3 separate regions of the Homo sapiens genome follow, and regions 1 and 2 are each linked to region 3. The links are contacts of gene promoters, found by promoter capture Hi-C in blood cells and fetal thymus (Javierre and others, 2016). All regions are on one chromosome and are shown on one strand. The core of a region is centred on a gene start or on the middle of the fragment in contact, and the rest is flanking DNA. Distances in the headings are between cores, read along the strand shown. Region 1 overlaps CHD9 (chromodomain helicase DNA binding protein 9). Region 2 overlaps CHD9 (chromodomain helicase DNA binding protein 9). Region 3 holds the start of RBL2 (RB transcriptional corepressor like 2).

Region 1 (3,219 bases), core at 40-2,539, 130 kb after region 3:
CTGTAATCTCAGCACTTTGGGAGGCTGAGGCGGGTAGATCACCTGAGGTCGGGAGTTTGAGACCAGCCTGACCAACATGGAGAAACCCCGTCTCTACTAAAAATACAAAATTAGCCAGGCATGGTGGCACATGCCTGTAATCCCAGCTACTTGGGAGGCTGAGGCAGGAGAGTCGCTTGAACCCAGGAGGTGGAGGTTGAAGTGAGCTGAGATTGCGCCATTGCACTCCAGCCTGGGCAACAAGAGCAAAACTCCATCTCAAAAAAAAAAAAAAAAAAGAAAAGAAAAGAAAAGAAAAGAAAAGAAAAGTTATGTTAAAAAAGTAGAATTATTTTATGCATAGTACCTCGTTTTTGGGCTTCTTCTTCATCACTGTCACTTTCTTCTGATGAAGATGAAGAGGAGGAGGAGGAGGAAGAGGTGGAGGAAGAGGATGAAGAAGATGCTGAAGAACAAGATGAAGATGAAGAAGAACTAGAGCCTGATCGAGAGTGGGAGCAAGAAGAGGATGATGAGGAAGAAGATGATCTGGAAGAACAAGATGATCTCTCAGAATCTGAGTCAGAATCAGAACTAGATTCTGATCCCCTTTTGTGGACTCTTGGTTTCTTAGAAGCTGGGTTTGGAGTTAGGGGTTCTGTTCTGGCTGCAACCATGCGTCTGTCTGTTTCACATTTTCCACCAGATTTCTGGTCTCCAGTAGCCTGTGGTAAAACACCATTCTTTGGACTTACAGGCTCAGATTTTATTAGTGTCCTGGTTTCCACAGAAGACATAGATTCTTCTTCAGAAGACTGAGGCTCCTCTTTAAGGTTTTCACTTTTAACTTTCATCTCCTCTAGAATAATACCTTTAGCATCTAGGAGCCTAGGTAGAGAGGTAAGAGGAGAAGCAGAAAGTGCTACTTGATATTGCTGTAGAAGTGGGGTAGAAGTCCTTGAATGAGCCATCTTACTTTGACTGTAGTTCCTCTGAGCTGCCATAAATGAGAGTTCAGGATCACGAAGAATGTGATAGTCTGTTCGGCTCACCCCGTGTTTGGCAGCACCAATAAGCAAATCCCTATCATGAGGGCCACATTCCCACCAGACTGGTAAATCTGGATTTGGATGGCAAAGCTTCAAGCGTTCAAACAACTGTGGATGTCGAAGGGCCTGTTCCCGTACTTTCCTTAGAAGTTCAATGCGATACAAAGTCCTAGAAGCACGTTCTTCTGTGATGGGCTGGATAAAAATATTTGGATCCACCAATTCTACATATTGAAACAAGGACAAAAATATTAATCTCAAAAATCCTTTATTTATAAATAAATCATTATAAATACATCTTTATATATTTATAACAATACCATTTCTAAAATGTGCCTCCATGCAATATCACTGTATAGTTTCCAGAATTTCTTTTCAGTGAGGAGAAATTCAGTGAGGATTTTGAAATTTTGAAATTTCAGTAAAAGCTTTAAAAAGGAGAAAGTTTTAAAAGTAAGTACTAAAAATCATGTAACATAAAATACTGGATGTTAATGTAAAACATAAGATTATTTTGGAAGTACATTAATAGAACTGGGAATTTTAAGAAATTCCCTATGAGCGATGCATTTAATAACATTTGTCTTAATAACACAAACACTTGCTCAAACTCACTTATAAATTAGAAGTGTTCAGGGTTGTCCAATCTTTTGGCTTCCCTGGGCTGCATTGTAAGAGGAATTGTATTGGGCCACATATAAAATACACTAACACTAACGATAGCTGATGAGCTTAAAAAAATTGCAAAAAAAAAAAAAAAACTCATAATATTTTAAGAAAGTTTACGAATTTGTGATGGGCCGCATTCAAAGCTGTCCTGGGCCACAGGTTGGACAAGCTTGTGTTAAGTGATACTCCATAAACAAATGTAAGCTGGCATATCTCAAACTGCAAAAGGTAAGAGGACATTGGAGTGAACTCACAGGGGCAACAAGGGCTTTCTCAAATTTCTAGGGAAACACAGCCACATCTTTCAAACACTGCACAAATTACTAGCTTGAGATAGTTCAGTTTCAACATGAACTCATGCTACCTCATACCTCTGATAAGGTTATGCCTTTGCAAAAGTGGGTTACTGACACTTGGGAAGTACTCAAGAAACATGGGCTTGCTGAAACAATGCAGGGACCAACATAAGCAGCTCCTAATGCCAAATATGGAACAATCTGAGCAATAAATAAAGACAATATTGGATTGTAACCTATAGAATAAATACCCATGAATCCATACTGATATGAATAAATAACTGATTAAATAGATGAGAGAGAATGAAACATCCTTTCTTACAGCAGAATTCCACAGAAAAAACTGTTGTAGACAAGATTTAGTATCTGGCAGATACTAAAAATCAATGGGTGAAAGTTTGAGAAGAAACAAGATTTGTGAAGCTTAAGATATTTGTTAATTACAGTAATTTTACACTGGCCAAATGCAGCATAAACTACCTTAACCACACAATTAAAGTCAACATCATCAGTAATAAGACATACTGACATCTCCAATCCCTTGATATTACATTCTGAGAACACATCATTTCTGTGGCACTCTTGCCAAAAATGCATGACCTCAATCCAGTCATGTAACAACATAAGACAAGCTCAAATTGAGGGATACATGGCTAAATAACTGATCAACACTTTTCAAAGGTATCAAAGTCATTAAAGATAAGGAACAGCTGAGAACCTGTTACGGATTGCAGGAAGCTAACGAGAAAGAAAAACCAAATACATTGTAGGATCTTGGAACAAAAAGGGACATTAGTTGAAAAACTGGTAAAATTAAAATAGGTATTTAGTTTAGTTAATGGCTTTAATGTTAATTTCTTGTTTTGATAATTATACTATAATTACTCTGGTAAAATGTTAACATTAAGAGAGGAAGGGCCAGGCGCAGTGGCTCATGCCTGCAATCCCAGTACTTTGGGAGGCCGAGGCGGGTGGATCATGAGGTCAGGAGATTGAGACCATCCTGGCTAACACGGTGAAACCCCGTCTCTACTAAAAACACAAAAATTAGCCGGGTGTGGTGGCAGCCACCTGTAGTCCCAGCTACTCGGGAGGCTGAGGCAGGAGAATGGCATGAACCCGGGGGCGGAGCTTGCAGTGAGCCGAGATCACGCCACTGCATACCAGCCTGGGCGACAGAGCGAGACTCCATCTCAAAAAAAAAAAAAAAAGAAAAAAAAGAAAGA
Region 2 (3,095 bases), core at 447-2,946, 150 kb after region 3:
AATGTCTTTAATCATTTACAAATTTACTTTAAAAAATTTCAATAGGAATTTTTTTATTTCAGTAGATACATCAGAAATTCTCAGGGGTCTAATCTTACTCTTTATTGCATGCTAACATTCACTCATGGTAAATGGTTTCTCATATATTTTTAAACTTGGGGTTTTTACTTCATTTTATGCAGGGCTTCATCTTCGGGACTCGTGCATAGTCAGGGTTGAACTGTTTCTTACAGGTGCTTTTTGTTTTTACCAGGCACCCTAGATATATTACCAGTAAAGGACTGATCCTTTTTTATATTACACTGAGGGCTCTTGGACCACACAGATAAAGTAAAAGACAAATCACGAACTCAAGAGAAGGTGGGTCTATGGTTACAAATTCTCAAGGGAAACAATAATTTTCTTACCCAAAGTCCGTGATGAGATAAATTTCCTTGCTATTTCTCCGTGCTGTTTGTCAGTAATTACTGGCCTTTGAGACTCTTGACCTCATATAGGATTTTGGTTTTCATTGCCCACACACTGGAGCAAGCCTTGTCTCATGCCCTCATCAAGGCATCAAGCCCCTTAGCTACCAAGTCCAGCAAATCCTACCTGACAGCTTTAGCGTCATTTAGCCTTTTACCACACTCTCATAAATATTAGACATTCCTCATCTCTTTTAAAATCCTTTTCCCCACTCTACAGATTATTTTCTGTACTTTCATCCAACTCTTCTTCCTTTTGACATTCTACAAACAGAGCACTGAGAACTATGCTTTGGCAACTCAGAATTCCTTGATGCTCTACCCTCTATCTCAAACCTCTTCATGTAGGTATAGTTTCTAACTCTTGCAGTATATCTTTAGTATCTAGTTCTCACTCTCCTTTGGGATTTTGCCCTTGGACACTGTGTTTCTTAGCTCTAAGAAGTAGAGCAGGTGGGCAAGCCCCATTGCATCCACATGTCCAAGCCAGCCCCCATCTTGTCTAAAAGGGGAGATCAGGTGAATTCTGAGTGATTATTTGAGATGTTTGTCAACCCAAGTTGATCACTTACTTAGCTAATCTGAGGAACAGAAGAATTATGTATAATGAAAACAAAATATAATGCAAAAGAAAAAGCAAACACAAGAAACCAAAGAATACCTAAAATTGAGGATTTAAAAATATGATCCAATGCATACCTCTATATCATCTTTAAAGATGGCTGGGGCAGGTTTGTATTCTGGATCTTCCACATCCCTGTTAAAATACAAACAAATGCTATAATTACTGTAATGGACTTAAGATTTCACTTGATAGGACAAAGTCTTGTTGGAGGGTTTTAGTTTGTTTTAAAAGTCAGACTGACGTCTCTTCTCTAGCCAGAAGAGCCCAAGACACAGCAGGAAGGCTGTTATAAAGCAAATAGGGAGAAAGCTAGTTCTAATGTACCCTTACTCACAAGTTCACTTTTATTTTTATTTTTTTTGAGACGGAGTTTCACTCTTGTCGCCCAGGCCGGAGTGCGGTGGCACAATCTCAGCTCACTGCAACCTCCACCTCCCGGGTTCAAGAGATTCTCCTGCCTCAGCCTCCCGAGTAGCTGGGACTACAGGTACATGCCACCACACCTGGCTAATTCTGTATCTTTAGTAGAGACGGGGTTTCACCATGTTGGCCAGGCTGGTCTCGAACTCCTGACCTCAAATGATCCACCTGCCTTGGCCTCCCAAAGTGCTGGGATTACAGGCGTGAGCAAGTGCATCCAGCCGCGAGTTCGCTTTTAAATGCATTATTATTAACCACAAAGTGTTCCTTACTTTTCTCTTTGGGTAAGAAAAGACAGATTACATAAGGCCTTAAAACAGGTACAGTTGGCCTTTCGTTATGTGTGGGTTTCATATCTATAAATTCAACCAATTTCAGTTTGAAAATATGCGAAAAAAGCTGGTCCATGATGGCTCACACCTATAATCTCCGCACTTTGGGAAGCCAAGGCTAAGGTGGAAGATCACTTGGGCCCAGGAGTTCAAGACCAGCATGTGCAACACAGGGAGACCTCATCTCTACAAAAAATAAAATACAAGAAAATTAGCTGGGCATGGTGGCATGTGCCTGTGGTCCCAGATACTCAGGAGACTAAGTGGGAGGATCACTAGAGCCTGGGAGGTCAAGGCTGCAGTAAGACATGATTGTGCCATTGCATTCCAGCCTAGATGACAGAGCAAGACCCTGTCTCAAGAAAATATCTGGAAAAAAATGGCATCTGTACTGAACATGTACAGACTTTTTTTTTTGTCATTACTCCCTTAACAATTCAGTATAGCAACTATTTACATAGCATACAGCATATATATTGTACTATGAATTATAAATAATCTAAAGATAGTTTAAAGCATACGGGAGAATGTGCATAGGTTAAATGCAAATCCTATGCAATTTTATATATAGGACTAGAGCATCCTTGGATTTTGGTATCTGCAGGGTGTCCTGAATACCAAAATCCCCCATGGATATTGAGGGATGACTATGTAATAAATGTCATCATATGTCTCATCAACTATAACATTCTTGCCTTTTTCTCCCCCTATGCCCCTAGAAGTTTATGAACTCAGTGGCCATGATATAGCTGTTAAAATGAAAGAAATGAAAAACTCATCAAAAGAATGGGTGTGGGGCAGGTCCAACCTCTTCCTCGATCACATTCTGTTGGATAAGTGCTAACCTATTAGGGTATCTTTAGCTCTTTCAGATTGTAAACTCCAATTCCCTTACTGCTACCTCATTTAAAGATAAATAGTGTGACATAGAATATGCTGATATTGAATAGAAGAGAGATATATAGAAAATTCATGACTCTGAAACACACATACCCATCCATATAATCATTCGCTCTCTGTTCAGCAGCAACTGCTTTCTCATCAGGTTTTCCCACTCTTTCCAAGAAGCATAATGCTGGGTCTGCTCGAATAGTGTTATATTTTTCATATCCTGAAAACATCACCAATTACAAAAGTAAAAAAGATAAAAAGAAGAAAGGTGTATACATATAAGCATTCCTCGTATTTACAGTGGATGATATTTCTGGACTAAAGGGATAATACATTAAAATGATATAGGTTAAGTATGTT
Region 3 (3,152 bases), core at 591-3,090:
AACTTAACTGCTATGAGTTGAAATACCTCAAATAAATGGCGATAATGCTTGTTCTATCTGATTTACAGGATTATCTTGAGGGTAAAATAAGAGCTTGTTTGGAAGCCTTTAAGGCCATTTACCAAAAAAAAACCCAAAAAACAAAAAACAACATAAAAAGCCAACCAGTCCTTCTCTTTGCCAGACTACAGAAAGGCACTGAGAGATGAATAGGAACATAGCTTACTCAGCCAGATCATGTAAATATACAAAGAGCTTAGTAAACTTGAAAACACTGTCCATATGGGTGCTTTATGTGCCAGAAACTACATTATTGCCTTATTTAATCTTCAGAACAGCTCTGTGAGGTAAACACAAATATCTCCAGTTTAGAGATCACCATACTGAACTTTTCCAGCGGTTTCAGGTCTGTCGGGTTCTAAAGCCACCATACACTATCTTCTGCAGACCTAACAATTCAAAGAGGGAACTAGTAATTGAATTAAAATTCTATTAATGCAAATACAAATTAAAAATAACCTCACTCATCAGTACACATAGCCAAAAACATCATATTTAAATAATACCTTGGTTAGGCTTTGCATCCTGGACCTATTTGCCCGACTCTTTCTACAAATTAATTATAAAACGACTTGAGAAATCAAATGGCCTCAGGTTTAAATGCCACACACACAGTCAAACAGCTGATAAACAATCCGTACTTCCGTGTCACTTCCCATTGGCCCATGAAGGGGAGGTGCATACAAAGCTGACACTCACTGGCTAGAATGGCCATTTTTCTCATCTGCAAGCCCTGTCCGAAGGCTGCGACCTAACACACCCGGATCGCAACAACAACAGGAGTCCTGTGCAATGCCCGGGGTGACCAAAAAGCCCTCGAGGTAGCCACAGTCCTGATCCTAGTGACAAATGGGGGCATGTGTCTACATCCGGGTCGGCGGAGGGCTCATTTCATCTGGCCTGGGGGGAAATGAGTATTAATTTGTTTACACAGACGTAAACACAGCCCAAAACGCATCAGCACGTTGACTCAAACGCCCGCAACGCCAGGGCAAAGGCAATTTGGTTAACAGGGGGAAGCGAACAGACGGAGACGCCTGGAGACCCAGGTGCCACAACCCGGTTAATCGCGGTGCAAATAAGGGCAAGTCCCCTCCCCTTGTCCGTGTGGTCTTGACAACGACACTAGTTCATTCTACTAACAAGGCGGGCGGGGGGTCAGATGGGCCACACACACCCATTTTCCTCAACGGGACCCCAGCGCGATCTCAGCCTTGCTGTGCTACTTTAGGGCAAGACGCGTTCCCCATTCGGAAGCCGCAGGAAAGCGCGGCGAGAGCGGGTTAGCCCTCGGAGCGGCTAAGAGCCTCGGAATAGCGCAGAGGAAGTCCCCACCCCTCTCGGGGCTGGGAGCCCGCAACCCGCCCGAGAGTCTCTCGAGGCGCGCGACGCGGCTCGGAAGGCACCGGTTCACGCCAACTAGGCCGGAAGCGCCCCTCCGCCCGCGAGCGCACCTCCAGCGTGTAGCTTTCGCTCATGCTGCGGTAGCTGTCCCAGGCCTCGGCCCGCGCCGCCTCGTCCATGTTGAGGCGGCTGCACAGCTCGTCGAACCGCTGCTGGATCTGAGGGGTGGGCGACTCGGCAGGCGGCGCGGCGTCTTCCGCCTCGCCGTCGTCCTCCTCCTCCTCATCCGAGGCTGCCGCCGCCGGAGGGGGAGGCGGGGGCGGTGGCGACTGGTCACCTCCCGACGGCATAGCGCACCCCTGGGCGGCCGGACCTCAGGTGAGGTGAGGGCCCGGGCCCGCAGCCATTCAAACGGCGAAGCGCCCGCCCGTCCGCCGCCCGCACCGCGCCTGCGCCGCCGCAAACGACGCTGACCGCCTGCAGGCACCCGTAGTCTTGAGCACGGGCTGCTGGGAAACGTAGTCCAGGCCGGCGGTTCAAGGGGGCCAAAAATCATGTTTAAAAAAATTAGCTCCCCTAGTTTCACCAGGGGTGAAATAAAAGCACCTTCCCCGCATTTTAAACACGTACCTCCCCACCGTGAGAACATTCAACAGGGCTGTACTGACGAGAAAATGTCCAAAAGACACTGACGTGTGAAGGTTTCGTATCCAGGCTGTTCCCAGAAGTAAAACTTCCTCATCGCCTGGATATCCTTATCTAAAAAATAGGGATAATAGCAAGGGCCTGTCTCTGTACGTTCACGAAACTGCCTTTGCAAAAATCCTAACAGTGAGAAAGTTATGACAGTGCAAGGGATCTGACCTAAATGACTCCACGCTTCTCACTTCCGAGCTGCCCTTGTTCATTCCTGGGCGAAGACCTAACTAACTACAGGAGGAATTTAATTTCTAATTTCACTTTGAAACAAAGATTGTAACAGTCCTTTCCAAAAACAAACCCCATTCTTGCCTGGGGATCAGTCTGCCTTTGTAGAACTAACAAATTAGCCACAAGATTAGAAATTATGATTTAGGAGGCTTGCAGCCAGAGGCTATAAGATTCCTGACCTCCCCAATTGCTCTCAGGGATAACATCACTATTGTAAAACCTAAGATTGGTGCTGGAGATACTTTTCAGACCGCGCATTCCGATGCACTAGCTGGCGCCACTCAGACCATAATCTGGCTCAACAAGTTCTGCAATTCCACTCAGTAACAGAAGACAGCAAGAGCCCACTTCAACCCCCTGTGATTTCACCTCCCACCTGACAAATTAGCATTCGCCAATCCCTGGCCCCCTACCCGCCAAGTCATTCTTTAAAAACCCCAGTCTCCGAATTTTCTGGTAGGCTGATTTGAATAACCAAACTCCTGTCTGCCGTTCAGCTGGCTCTGCGTGAATTAAACTTTTTTTTTTTTTTTGAGACAGAGTCTGGCTCTGTTGCCCAGGCTGGAGTGTAGTGGCACGATCTCGGCTCACTGCAACCTCCGCCTCCTGGGTTCAAGCGATTCTCCTGCCTCAGCCTCCTGAGTATCTGGGATTACAGGTGTGCGCCACCGCACCCAGCTAATTTTTGTATTTTCAGTACAGGCAGGGTTTCACCATGTTGGCCAGGCTGGTCTCGAACTCCTGACCTCAAGTGATCCACCCACCTCGGCCTCCCAAAGTTCTGGGATTACAGGCGTGAGCCACCGTGCCCAGCCAAT

Evidence for each region. The method cuts DNA at HindIII sites, captures the fragments that hold promoters and counts their contacts. A CHiCAGO score of 5 or more calls a contact.
Region 1: a contact is called between a fragment that was not itself captured here and the fragment with the promoter of RBL2 in region 3, in 2 of 17 cell types (neutrophils and monocytes). The highest score is 9.3, in neutrophils.
Region 2: a fragment that was not itself captured here is called in contact with the fragment with the promoter of RBL2 in region 3 in 6 of 17 cell types (neutrophils, total CD4 T cells, non-activated CD4 T cells and 3 more); the score reaches 14.5 in neutrophils.

The regions. Positions count from the first base shown.
Region 1 is chr16:53,301,753-53,304,971 of GRCh38, reverse strand. It overlaps CHD9 (chromodomain helicase DNA binding protein 9), which reads right to left. Exons shown (of 39, transcript NM_001308319.2): 31 at 347-1,252. Among named protein-coding and RNA genes, the nearest start is that of RBL2, 130 kb to the left of the region's middle. The HindIII fragment of the contact is 338 bases long and covers 1,121-1,458 here.
Region 2 is chr16:53,286,086-53,289,180 of GRCh38, reverse strand. It overlaps CHD9 (chromodomain helicase DNA binding protein 9), which reads right to left. Exons shown (of 39, transcript NM_001308319.2): 26 at 2,838-2,955; 27 at 1,167-1,224. Among named protein-coding and RNA genes, the nearest start is that of RBL2, 150 kb to the left of the region's middle. The HindIII fragment of the contact is 5,858 bases long and covers 1-3,095 here.
Region 3 is chr16:53,433,159-53,436,310 of GRCh38, reverse strand. It overlaps RBL2 (RB transcriptional corepressor like 2), which reads right to left and starts at 1,840. Exons shown (of 22, transcript NM_005611.4): 1 at 1,515-1,840. The coding sequence starts at 1,754. RefSeq lists an enhancer at 846-955 and a silencer at 1,566-1,785. The HindIII fragment of the contact is 5,814 bases long and covers 1-3,152 here.